3 separate regions of the Homo sapiens genome follow, and all the other regions are linked to region 2. The links are contacts of gene promoters, found by promoter capture Hi-C in blood cells and fetal thymus (Javierre and others, 2016). All regions are on one chromosome and are shown on one strand. The core of a region is centred on a gene start or on the middle of the fragment in contact, and the rest is flanking DNA. Distances in the headings are between cores, read along the strand shown.

The links. Contacts are between HindIII fragments. The CHiCAGO score rates a contact against its expected background, and 5 or more counts as called.
Region 1: a fragment that was not itself captured here is called in contact with the fragment with the promoter of PRECSIT in region 2 in 1 of 17 cell types (naive B cells); the score reaches 5.2 in naive B cells.
Region 3: a fragment that was not itself captured here is called in contact with the fragment with the promoter of PRECSIT in region 2 in 1 of 17 cell types (endothelial precursors); the score reaches 6.5 in endothelial precursors.

Annotation. Positions count from the first base shown.
Region 1 is chr13:110,631,475-110,635,274 of GRCh38, reverse strand. NAXD (NAD(P)HX dehydratase) reads right to left here. Exons shown (of 10, transcript NM_001242882.2): 6 at 680-730; 7 at 499-603. Among named protein-coding and RNA genes, the nearest start is that of NAXD-AS1, 17 kb to the right of the region's middle. RefSeq lists enhancers at 1-222, 223-1,052, 2,047-2,709. The HindIII fragment of the contact is 6,807 bases long and covers 1-3,800 here.
Region 2 is chr13:110,868,842-110,872,487 of GRCh38, reverse strand. It overlaps PRECSIT (p53 regulated carcinoma associated Stat3 activating long intergenic non-protein coding transcript), which reads left to right and starts at 2,180. Exons shown (of 1, transcript NR_027701.1): 1 at 2,180-3,646. RefSeq lists enhancers at 1,880-3,079, 2,437-3,123. The HindIII fragment of the contact is 3,703 bases long and covers 1-2,959 here.
Region 3 is chr13:110,715,808-110,719,507 of GRCh38, reverse strand. ING1 (inhibitor of growth family member 1) reads right to left here. Exons shown (of 2, transcript NM_198219.3): 2 at 1-279. Among named protein-coding and RNA genes, the nearest start is that of ING1, 4.0 kb to the right of the region's middle. RefSeq lists enhancers at 1-238, 3,002-3,091, 2,961-3,654 and silencers at 3,382-3,431, 3,462-3,700. The HindIII fragment of the contact is 364 bases long and covers 2,117-2,480 here.

The DNA of each region.
Region 1 (3,800 bases), core at 24-2,523, 240 kb after region 2:
ACGGTGCCTGCTCCAGTGCCCATCCTCTACCTCATCAGAGCAGGCTGAAGGAGGACCACCCAAGACTGGGTTCTGAGAGCTTTGCAGGAGTAATACAAATTCCAGTCGTACTGGGCACTAACATTGATGGGACACTTACCATGTGGGGACTCACGGCTTTACATAGGTTTCCTCATCTCATCCTCACAACCCCGTGAAGCTGATGCCATCATCACATTACAGATGAGGCACTCAGGACACAGACAAAGTGACCTGTCCAGAGTGCACTGCAGGAGGGGCTGACTGACCCGAGTCCCTGCCTGTCCCAAGCCCACTACACCATCGTTCATCCAATCCAAGCGCATTAATGGGAAGACGCGCCATCCGCTGGGAGAGGCACAGCGATTACTTGCAGGTGTGTCCACAGGGACAGGCTGGGCAGAAGCATGGAGCTCGTCCTTCACCCTCTTCAGGACGAACAGGGCTTGCATCTACCCTCCAGGGGGTCCACTGACTCACCACAGCGTCATACAGTCTGCTGAACTCCACGTGGTTGGGAGTGAGCACAGCCTTCCGGTAGCCATGGATGAGGGCCGGCTGCTGAGCGACCAGCCACAGGCCATCCTGCACAGAACAAGGAGCCGTGCTCACTGCACAGGCCTTCCGGGAGTCCGAGCCAGGAGGAGAGAAGTCAACTCACCGCGTCGATGACAACAGGGATGTCCCTGGCCTTTGACACTTCCAAAATGCCCTGCCAGAAGAGAAAACCAGACTGAGCACCATGCCTGCTGCTATGGTGTGGGTATGTGTCTTCTCAAAACTCATGGTGAAACTTAATTGCCAAGGGAAGGGTCCTGGGAGGTGGGGCCTTTAAAAGGTGATGTGGCAGTGTCCTCATGGGTTGGTTTAATGACCTTTAAAAGAGGCATAAGGGTCTCTCTCCTGCCCTTCTGCCCTCGCCAGATGCCGGCACCTTGATGTTGGACATCCACCTTCAGAACTGTGAGCCAGTAAACGCCTGTTCATTATCAATTACCCAGTCTGTGGTACGGCTACAGCAGCGCAAAACCGACTAAGACACTTTTCCCAAGAGTGACAGAAAATTGAGCAGACTCTTAATAAAATGCAACATCAGGCCATCAAACAATAAATGGAAAATAATCAAGTAAATGAATAAAATAGAGAAGCAGAAAGACCCAATGAACTCGCAGAGCCCGTAAACAAGGCAGGACACTGGGAACTCTGAAAGGCGAAGCCCACTGGAAACGCTATGAACAACAGCTGGGCTCCTAGGCTAACCCATGAAGACAGCCCCCGCCCCAGCAAGGGCATCCAGTTCTCCAACAGATACTAATACGCAGCATTCGGAGGCAGGAAATCTGAATTCCTGAGAATTCCCCAAATCATTAGTCATTATGTATTTTTCATATCACTTTACTTACACGTTTTAAAATAACAACAATAATAAACAGGGAATCATTTTTCCCTGATAGGATTACAGTGAAGGTTTCAAAGGTTTTCTATTAAAAAAAAAAAACTACATGTATAGATACACACACATATATGTAATATTTGGTGGTTTTTATTATTATGAGCCAATACATTGTGACAAGATTATACACTGCAGTAGCATGTAAAGTGATCCTGACTTGACAGACACCTGATAATACAAAACATTAAAATAGAAAACATTAAACAAAATGAGAGGTGACAGCATGCTGGCAGTCCTCAGAGCCCTCGCTTGCTCTCAGCACCTCCTCTGCCTGGGCTCCCACTTTGGCGGCATTTGAGGAGCCCTTCAGCCCACCACTGCACTGTGGGAGCCCCTTTCTGGGCTGGCCAAGGCTGGAGCCCACTCCCTCAGCTTGCAGGGAGGTGTGGAGGGAGAGGCGCGAGCGGGAACTGGGGCTGCCTGCAGCGCTTGCGGGCCAGCTGGAGTTCCGGGTGGGCGTGGGCTTGGCGGGCCCCGCACTCGGAGCAGCCGGCCAGCCCTGCTGGCCCGGGGCAATGAGGGACTTAGCACCCGGGCCAGCGGCTGCAGAGGGTGTACTGGGTCCTGCAGCAGTGCCAGCCCACCGGCACTGTGCTCAATTTCTCACCGGGCCTTAGCTGCCTTCCCGCCGGGCAGGGCTCGGGACCTGCAGCCCGCCATGCCTGAGCCTCCCACCCCCTCCATGGGCTCCTGTGCGGCCCGAGCCTCCCCGACGAGCACCACCCCCTGCTCCACGGCACCCAGTCCCATCGACCACCCAAGGGCTGAGGAATGCGAACGCACGGCGCAGGACTGGCAGGCAGCTCCACCTGCAGCCCTGGTGCGGGATCCACTGGGTGAAGCCAGCTGGGCTCCTGAGTCTGGTGGGGATGTGGAGAGTCTTTATATCTAGCTCAGGGATTGTAAACACACCAATCAGCACCCTGTGTCTAGCTCAGGGTTTGTGAGTGCACCAATCAGCACCCTGTGTTTAGCTCAGGGTTTGTGAATGCACCAATCGACACTCTGTATCTAGCTGCTCTGGTGGGGCCTTGGAGAACCTTTATGTCTAGGTCAGGGATTGTAAATACACCAATCGGCACTCTGTATCTAGCTCAAGGTTTGTAAATACACCAATCAGCACTCTGTGTCTAACTCAGGGTTTGTGAGTGCACCTATCGACACTCTGTATCTAGATGCTCTGGTGGGGCCTTGGAGAACCTGTGTGTCGAAACTCTGTATCTAACTAATCTGATGGGGACGTGGAGAACCTTTGTGTCTAGCTCAGGGATTGTAAACACACCAATCAGTGCCCTGACAAAACAGGCCACTCGGCTCTACCAATCAGCAGGATGTGGGCGGGGCCGGATAAGAGAATAAAAGCAGGCTGCCCGAGCCAGCATTGGTAACCCGCTCGGGTCCCCTTCCACGCTGTGGAAACTTTGTTCTTTCGCTCTTTGCAATAAATCTTGCTACTGCTCACTCTTTGGGTCCACACTGCTTTTATGAGCTGTAACAGTCACCGCGAAGATCTGCAGCTTCACTCCTGAAGCCAGCGAGACCACGAGCCCACCGGGAGGAACGAACAACTCCAGACGCGCTGCCTTAAGAGCTGTAACACTCACCGCGAAGGTCTGTAGCCTCACTCCTGAGACAGAGACCACGAACCCACCAGAAGGAAGAAACTCCGAACACATCTGAACATCAGAAGGAACAGACTCCAGACGCGCCACCTTAAGAGCTGTAACACTCACCGCGAGGGTCCACGGCTTCATTCTTGAAGTCAGTGAGACCAAGAACCCACCAATTCTGGACATAAAAATACATGCTAAGAATAATTTAAAGTATTGAAAACTAAAGCCGTGTATATTAAATGAAATTTGAAAGCTGACAAAGCATTAGCTGCTCGCCTAACAAAGTGCTCATTTCAGCCTGTTTATGACGCACATTCCAGCCATAGGAAAGTGTGTATTTGGCTCTGACACTGGTCCGAGCATTAGCAGTGTGTCCTGAAGCCCCTTCCAGGGAGGCAGGTACCTGAGACTTCATGGAAGTTTATTATTCCCTTTATTAACAATAAAAATTCTTTGTCTGCTTGCCCTGAGTTTGGCTTTACTGTTAAAACTGGCAGGCTTTTGCTAATTCAGATTTTAGATCAGTTTCTGATTTCATGTTGCAGTATTTGGCAACAATCTGACATTTTCATCTGTTTCTGTGTTTTCTTTTAATGTATTTGCAAATAGTACTCAAAAGTGAATATTCAAACCCTGGAAAATGCAATGTTACATGGGTCTCCTAGAAAGGTTTGCAGCATCAGAGCACCCAGCGCAGAAGGGTGTCCCCACCCATG
Region 2 (3,646 bases), core at 931-3,430:
ACAGCACTGACAGCAGCAGCAGAGCGTTGAGCTGTGAGGCAGGACGTCCCACCCGGGGAGGGGCCCCTTCCTTGGGCTCACGTTCTCAGGAGATCACAGTGCAGTGTCAGCCAGGGCTGCAGTCTCATCTGAAAGCTCCCCTGGAGCCTCTGCATCCAAGCTCACGCACATGGCTGGTGACTGGACCCAGTTCCCCCCGGGTCGCTGAACTAAGGGCCTGAGTTCTTTGATGGTTGTTGGCCTAAGGCCACCCCAGCTCCGTGCAGGGGAGGGCAGGGGCCTCTCCACCAGGCACTCTGAGGAGTGCTCACCCCCCGCAGGGAGAGGCGGGAGGGACGGGGAAGGGCAGAGGACACATCAGGTTTTTCATCTTACTGCGTTTTTTTTAAAACAGGAAGATCTGAAGCCAACTACATTCAGCAAGTTTTCTTAAGAACAAAGTAAGAAAGATAAACCAGAACAGCCCTGCTTGGCTTATCCCGGCCTCGCCTTAACCCTCCCTTCCCTGCCGTCTTTCTGTGGCTCCCCTCTGCCAGGTGCCCCCTGAACTTTAAGATTCCAGGATGGTTTGAGAACAACTTCGATGTTTCTGTTTTCCCATTTATGAAGGCTACTGTGCTCTCACCAGTGAATTTAATTACAAGATTTTTAGAAGCAGCTAAAAAAATTGCAACTCAGATGCATCAGTGAATCAGTCCTATTCCCTGTCTGCTAAAGGATGTCTTTTCGTTACCATCATCTGCCGCAGGGCTTTTCTGACAGTTCATATAATTCAAGATAATTGAAGCCAATTTTGCAAGCAAAACGACAGGAACCACTACATGAAATAGCACATCAAGTCTCTGATTCACAACAATGGCACTATTTCCTCAATGGTTTTAAAATTCTCTTGGCTAGGCGTAGTGGCTCACGCCTGTAATCCCAGCACTTTGGGAGGCCGGGGCGGGCAGGTTGTTTGAGCTCAGGGGTTCAAGACCAGCCTGGGCAACAACGTGAGACCCTGTCTCTACAAAAAATACAAAAATTAGCTGGGCTTGGTGGCGCATGCCTGTAGTCCCAGCTACTTGGGAGACTGAGGTGTATCAATTGAGAAAAATGACAAGACAAGTCTCAATCATTTTAGGAGGTTTACTCGCCAAAGTTAAGGACGAACACTCGGGAGACAGTCTGTACCTTTCTCCGAAGATGATTTTGAGGGCTCCAAATTTAAAGGGGAAAGGGTGAGATAATGACAAGTACACAATTTTCATCTAAGAGGCGGGTAGAGAAAAATAGTCATGCGTTTGGCTCATTGAATCTGCATTATTTTTACACAAGATGACTTAGACAAAGGGGGCAGGGGAACAATCAGGTTTGCATTTGTGTCTGGCGGGCAGGGGTTGACTGCACCTGTAAAGATGAGCTATCGATTTGCATTGCTGTGGTGAAATCTTAACAGAAACACCTTACAGTAAAGATTGCGGAGCTCACTAGGAATTTCCTTGTGGACAAAATATAGGGGAGGTGTGCAGTTTTTCATCTTGCAGCATCTTATTTAGGGACCAAAAGGGGAGGCAGGTTTGCATGACCCAGTTCCCAGCTTGACTTTTCCCTTTGGCTTGAGTTTGGGGGCCCAAGATTTATTTTCCCTTCACAGGTGGGACGATGGGTTGCAGGGAGGATGGGAGCCTGGGAGGCAGGGTTGCAGGGAGCCAAGATCATGCCACTGCACTCCAGCCTAGGTGACAGAGTGAGATCCTGTCTCAAACAAAACAAAACAAAACAAAACCTCTCTCTGGAAGAGAAAGGAGGGACTGTGAAAACAACCGAGGGAACAGGCAGCTTTCATTACCAGCAGCATGGGATCCTCGCCCAAGGCCGAGAAAACACAGGAGTGAAATGACAGCTATAGAGGTACACTCCGCAGGCTGCATGAAAAGGACAAAAACAGTAATATACACACCAGTAAGGAACGGCATTGGCATGCTCCGCCTCCTGTGGGCAGCCTGGGGATGAGGTCATTTTCCAAAACAGGGAGCTGGTCAGCATTTTCCATGCCCAGGGCAAGTTCCCCTTGATGGACAGCACCTAATGACCAGCGCTGAGTCAGTCTAGGAGCAGAAAGACTGGAAACCCTGGAGTAGGGGCCACGTCAGCATGACTCACTCAAGCAACGGCAAATTCTCACAGCAACAACATGAAACGCCCTCCAGGGTGATGACTGTGGGAGCAAAACTGACCGGAACCTGGGCGGTGCATGCACTGTGCACCCTCCTGGTTAACAGCCCCACGGCCCGAGAGCTGTGCTTTACATGAATGTCTTCTGTTAAAGCAGCTCGTGTGGCTTCTGCACCCTGGTGGAGCCAACACACGTGCCTGTCACGGAGGTGAGGAGTGAGTGAGTTCTCACCAGCATTTGACGCTGACCTTCCGGAGACATGGCGTCCCTGAGAGCCTGCAGCCTGCCAGAGCAGAGAGCCACCCGCTGGCCGTTCTGTTGGAATTTCGGAGTTCCTGTCTTTCAGGCAACATCTGCCAAGCGCGGTTTGTGTAAGGAAACCCATTCTGTCGTGTCTGCCGGGGCCCAGGGCGGCTGCTGTGCGGGAACCAGCTTTTGTGGCCCATGGAGCAACGACTCAGTCTGGGGCTCGGCTACTCTCCGGCCCGGGGTACTGGCATTTCCCTGGGGCCCATGGGGCGAGTGCCCCTATTTTTCCCATGAGGCCTCAGCCAAGAGGAGGTTCGGGAAGAAAGGAAAACACAGGTGAGGAGAGAGAAGGGCGGGCAGAGAGGTACCACGCCATTAGTGCTGATGGGGAGAGGCGGCTCCAGCCCGGCACTGCTGTCCTTACGAGGCATGTTTCCTTTTTATTCGGAGGAAGAGAAGCAGAGGAACACGTCATGGAGACGGACCGAGTTGAAGGAGCCAGGGATGGTGACAAGCGGAAGGAAGTGTGTTTTGTCCCCATCCAGGGAAGCTTTTGTTTCATGAGACTTACTTGCGCACGTCTGGTAGCTGCCCTGGACATTCATGGACTTTCGTTTTCACTCAGATTTTGTGGTTCACGTGACACAAAGCATGAGGACATCACTGGGCGAGAGGGCCAGGTCACCCCACTGCCGAGGGGCACGCCCCAGCTGTGCACCGCTAGAGTGGGCTTGTCCAGTCCTCGGACACGGGGACAGGGTGTGCCCATCTCATGTAAGACATGAATAATAGTAGAAATTTCTGTTGCATGAGAACTCTCTGCATTATCCTCACCATTTTCCTGTAAGCGTAAAACGTCTAAAACTTTTTTATGAGCACACTAATTCCTCACTTAAGGTCGTCATTAGGTTCTTGGAAATGGCAACTTTAAACAAAAGGACAGACAGCAGGTCCTCAAATAACATTCTTTCCTTCAACATCATTTCATCCTAAGGAGAAAAAAATGGATTTTGTTACATATCCTGGTTCATTTCCAAGAACCAGGTGGGCATAGAATTGACCAAAGGTGGAGGAGAACAGATGTGCGGCTCCGTCCTGGCTGTGTGGCTCCGTCCTGTGGACTAATGCGTGTGGACAGTCAGGAACACTTTCAGGACAATGTGGGTGGCCTGCCAATGGGACCTATTCCAGAGGTCTGAGAAGAAACCGTTGTTTAACCTAGAATCCTGCTAGGAATCA
Region 3 (3,700 bases), core at 1,049-3,548, 150 kb after region 2:
CCGCCTCGCCTTTGGGCCTGTCCGCGCCAGCCTTGCCGCTGTTGCCCGCTGTGTCGCCCAGCTCCTGCTGCGCCTCGAACAGCTCCACGTGGCTGTCCACCTGCCGCGTGCGGTTCTCCACCAGCTCCACCATCTGGCTCACGATCTGGATCTTCTCGTCGCCCAGCTCCTGGCTGCGGATCAGCGCGCGCTGCACACAGTGCAGCATCCGCCGCTTCTGCGCCCCGTCTGTCTCGCGACTGAAGCGCTCGTAGCACTCGTCTAGCTCCTTCAGGATCTCTGGGGGCAAGAAGGACAGGCGTCACTCGCGAGCAGGACACCGGGACAACCCACACGGCCCCGGACGGGTCTACGGAGAGGGCTGGCAGGGAGCCTAGGGGCCAGCGCACGGCTTGCCCAGAACAAAGCCCACCAGCCACAGGCTCTCCCGGGCCTATCTGTTCCTGTGCTAACCACAACACAACACAACACAACACAACACAACACAAATGCCGGCCCAGCTTCCACAGCGGCAGGAGCCGCTCCAGCCACCCCAGGGAACCTGAGAACAGTTCCCAGGCACGCACGGGTGACAACGCCCGAAGCCATTAAGAGGAAACGTTTAAATGAGGTGCAGTGCTCGGGACCCAACATTTATTAATACTTTCTATTAATGACTATGTCTATACTGCCATCATTTTTACTCAAATGTTTCTATTTGAATACAATTATTAATATACATATAACATTATATAAACATGGTATTTATTACATTTATACACAATATACAAACATTAATAAAATATATTATAAATTATTTGAATATTTCAAATAAAAAAGGTCTTTATTTTCTTTATTTTAATATACCAACATCTAGAATACCCTGTTAAATGAGAGAATGTGTATAAATTTATATAATAGCTCTCTATGATTTAAAGAACCGGGTTAACAGTAAAGGTCCAGGATACTTTGTGACTTAGGTCCTCAGTTTCAGTCCCCACATTTATTCTAGCATGTTATCCCTCTGTATTAGTGACAGCAAGAACAGTTCTGCCACAATAATCCAGAAAACCTAGCTTTGCTTTATTATTATTACGACTTGTTATTATTTTGGAGACAAGGTCCGTCTCTGTCGCCCAGGCTGGAGTGCAGTGGTGCAATCTCGGCTCACTGCAGCCTCGACCTCCCAGGTTCAAGGGACCCTCCCACCTCAGCCTCCTGAGTAGCTGGGACTACAGAAGCACCACTGTGATGGGCTATTATTATTATTTTTTAACTGCAGTGAATGCACTAGCCTTGCTTTAAAGCGAAGCTGGTAGGTTTTACTTTTGCATCTACTGCTTAAACAAAAACATCTTCACATCTGTTAAAGTCAATGGACTTTAAAATGTTATCAAAAACAAAAGAAAACCTCTTCAGTATTTAAATGTAAACCTTCCTGGGCATGTTAGAGGACAGTGTATATGATTTTAAAGTGTAATTTGGCAAGTGTAATTAGGCAATTTCTCAAGAAACAAAAGCTATTAAAAAATCTAGTTGAAGTAAACAGCCTTGCTAAAAAGGCTACTTAAATACACAGAAATTCCAGAGTTCTTTTTCCTCAAACAGTAACCATTAAATTAAACAGTACCAGATTATTCTCCTAAAACCTTTTTGCAGTCTCTTTAAACAAGGCAACAATACTACCTTTTTTTGTTGTTGTTGAAACGGAGTTTCACTCTTGTTGCCCAGGCTGGAGTGCAATGGCGCGATCTCAGCTCACTGCAACCTGCCTCCCAGGTTCAAGCGATTCTCCTGCCTCAGCCTCCCGAGTAGCTGGGATTACAGGCATGTAATACCACGCCCGGCTAATTCTGTATTTTCAGTAGAGACAGGGTGTCTCCATGTTGGACAGGCTGGTCTCCCAACTCTCGACCTCAGGTGATCCGCCCGCCTCGGTCTCCCATGGTGCTGGGATTACAGGAGTGAGCCACCGTGCCTGGCCAACAATACTACTTGTAAACTAGGGGAGGGGCTGAGAGTGGGAGGGATTGTCTAAAATGTTACCCCCTTCCTTTCCAGATCTTATCTCCAAATAGTTATAAGACATATACCTAACACTAGAGTAAACATAAGAACTCAGGCCAACGCTGAAGCTTCTCTAAATGGTAATATTTTCCAGAGTATATTCTCAAACTAAAGACAGCTTTGAAGACTCCTAGAGGAACAATGCAGGCTGCCTGCCACCAGGAGGAAAGCCCTAGTCTCATATAGTAATTAATTATAAAAATAAATAGCTGTGTTCAACGTATCCAAGTAATACCAATTTATTCAACTTATTTATCATAATGTTAAAATATGTGTACCATTTATTTTTAAATGGATTTAGGGTTACAAAATGGTATCACTTCTTTTCATCAGTAATCAAAGTTCTAAAGACAATATTGTCATTTCACAGAAAACTGTATCATATAAATTTAAAATTTAATAACACAGAAGTTATTTTACATCACAAGCAAGCTTCCATCCAGGTGAAGCCTAATTTGTGGGCAAGAGAAACAGATATCCCATCGCAAAATTACCAAGAAGTATTTCTGTTACCTAATATTTCTTTGATACTCCAAGCAAAGTATTTTATCAACAAAGCCACTAAGTACAAATATTTATAAACAGGAACAACACCACTGCTAAATAGGAAGCCATCCTTCCAGACACTCTGCTTTTTCAATGCCAGCAACTCAGCTTCAGACACTACTGCCTTTTTTCCAAACATATTCCACACCAACATTACCATGGAAAGCAGCAGCACATGCAATTTACAGATTAAATGGGGTTGTAGCAACATTTAAATTGGTTTGTCCAATTATTTTAAATGTATTTTAATTTTACATACGGGTTGCACTGAAGTTCTTTATGAAGCGAACTTCCCAGGGGGTGGGTGGGTATTTTTATGATAATGTTTGAAAAATAATTCAAGCAACCTCAAACACCATTTTAAATCGACAAACTAATTATAATCCAAGTTTATGAATTAACATACAACTGATGCCTACTAAGCAAAAGACGTTTGACTTCCTACAGAGTAGGTCTGTGGAAGTCTTTCAGAACTACGCGGCAGAGCTCAGCATTTACACCGAAGTCCAAGGAGCTGTGACCCTTGCGACAGATTCGCTCGCTTCTCGGCGCTCCCAGCTGCGCCGCTCCAGTACTCCCGGGGGGGCAGGACTGTGATCTTTCCTGAAGCCAAAAAGTTCATCACCCTAGGTGAACATGAAGCAAGCAGCAAGCCAGGCTCTCCCCAGCAACGACAGGAGGACAAAGTGGCTCCATGAACTTTGCTGTCTGGACAGCTGGAACCCTGCACCCCGCCCCGCGCTACTTTTTTCTATCGTCGAACGATCAAAGTGGTCTCAGCCCCTGCCTTCCTTCCGTCCGGAGCCCCAGGGTCACCCCACGGGGCCCGTCCGGCCCGAGGACAGCACCTTCCAGAAAAGTTTCTGCGCCGAGGGTCCCCCTCGTGGACGCAGCCCCAGTCACTCACGTTTCCACGGCCACGCGCGGCCCCACCCTCGGGTCAGCAGAGATGCGGCCTGAAACTGTCTCCGAGCCGGCCCCGCGGGTCGCGGGAGGCGGTCCGAACTGCAGCCCCGGCCCCGAGCCCACAGGCCCGGGATCACTGCTACTGCTATAAATCCGCGCCCGAAAGTGGCCGGGCTGAGCGGGGAGAGGGGCCGGGGCGACA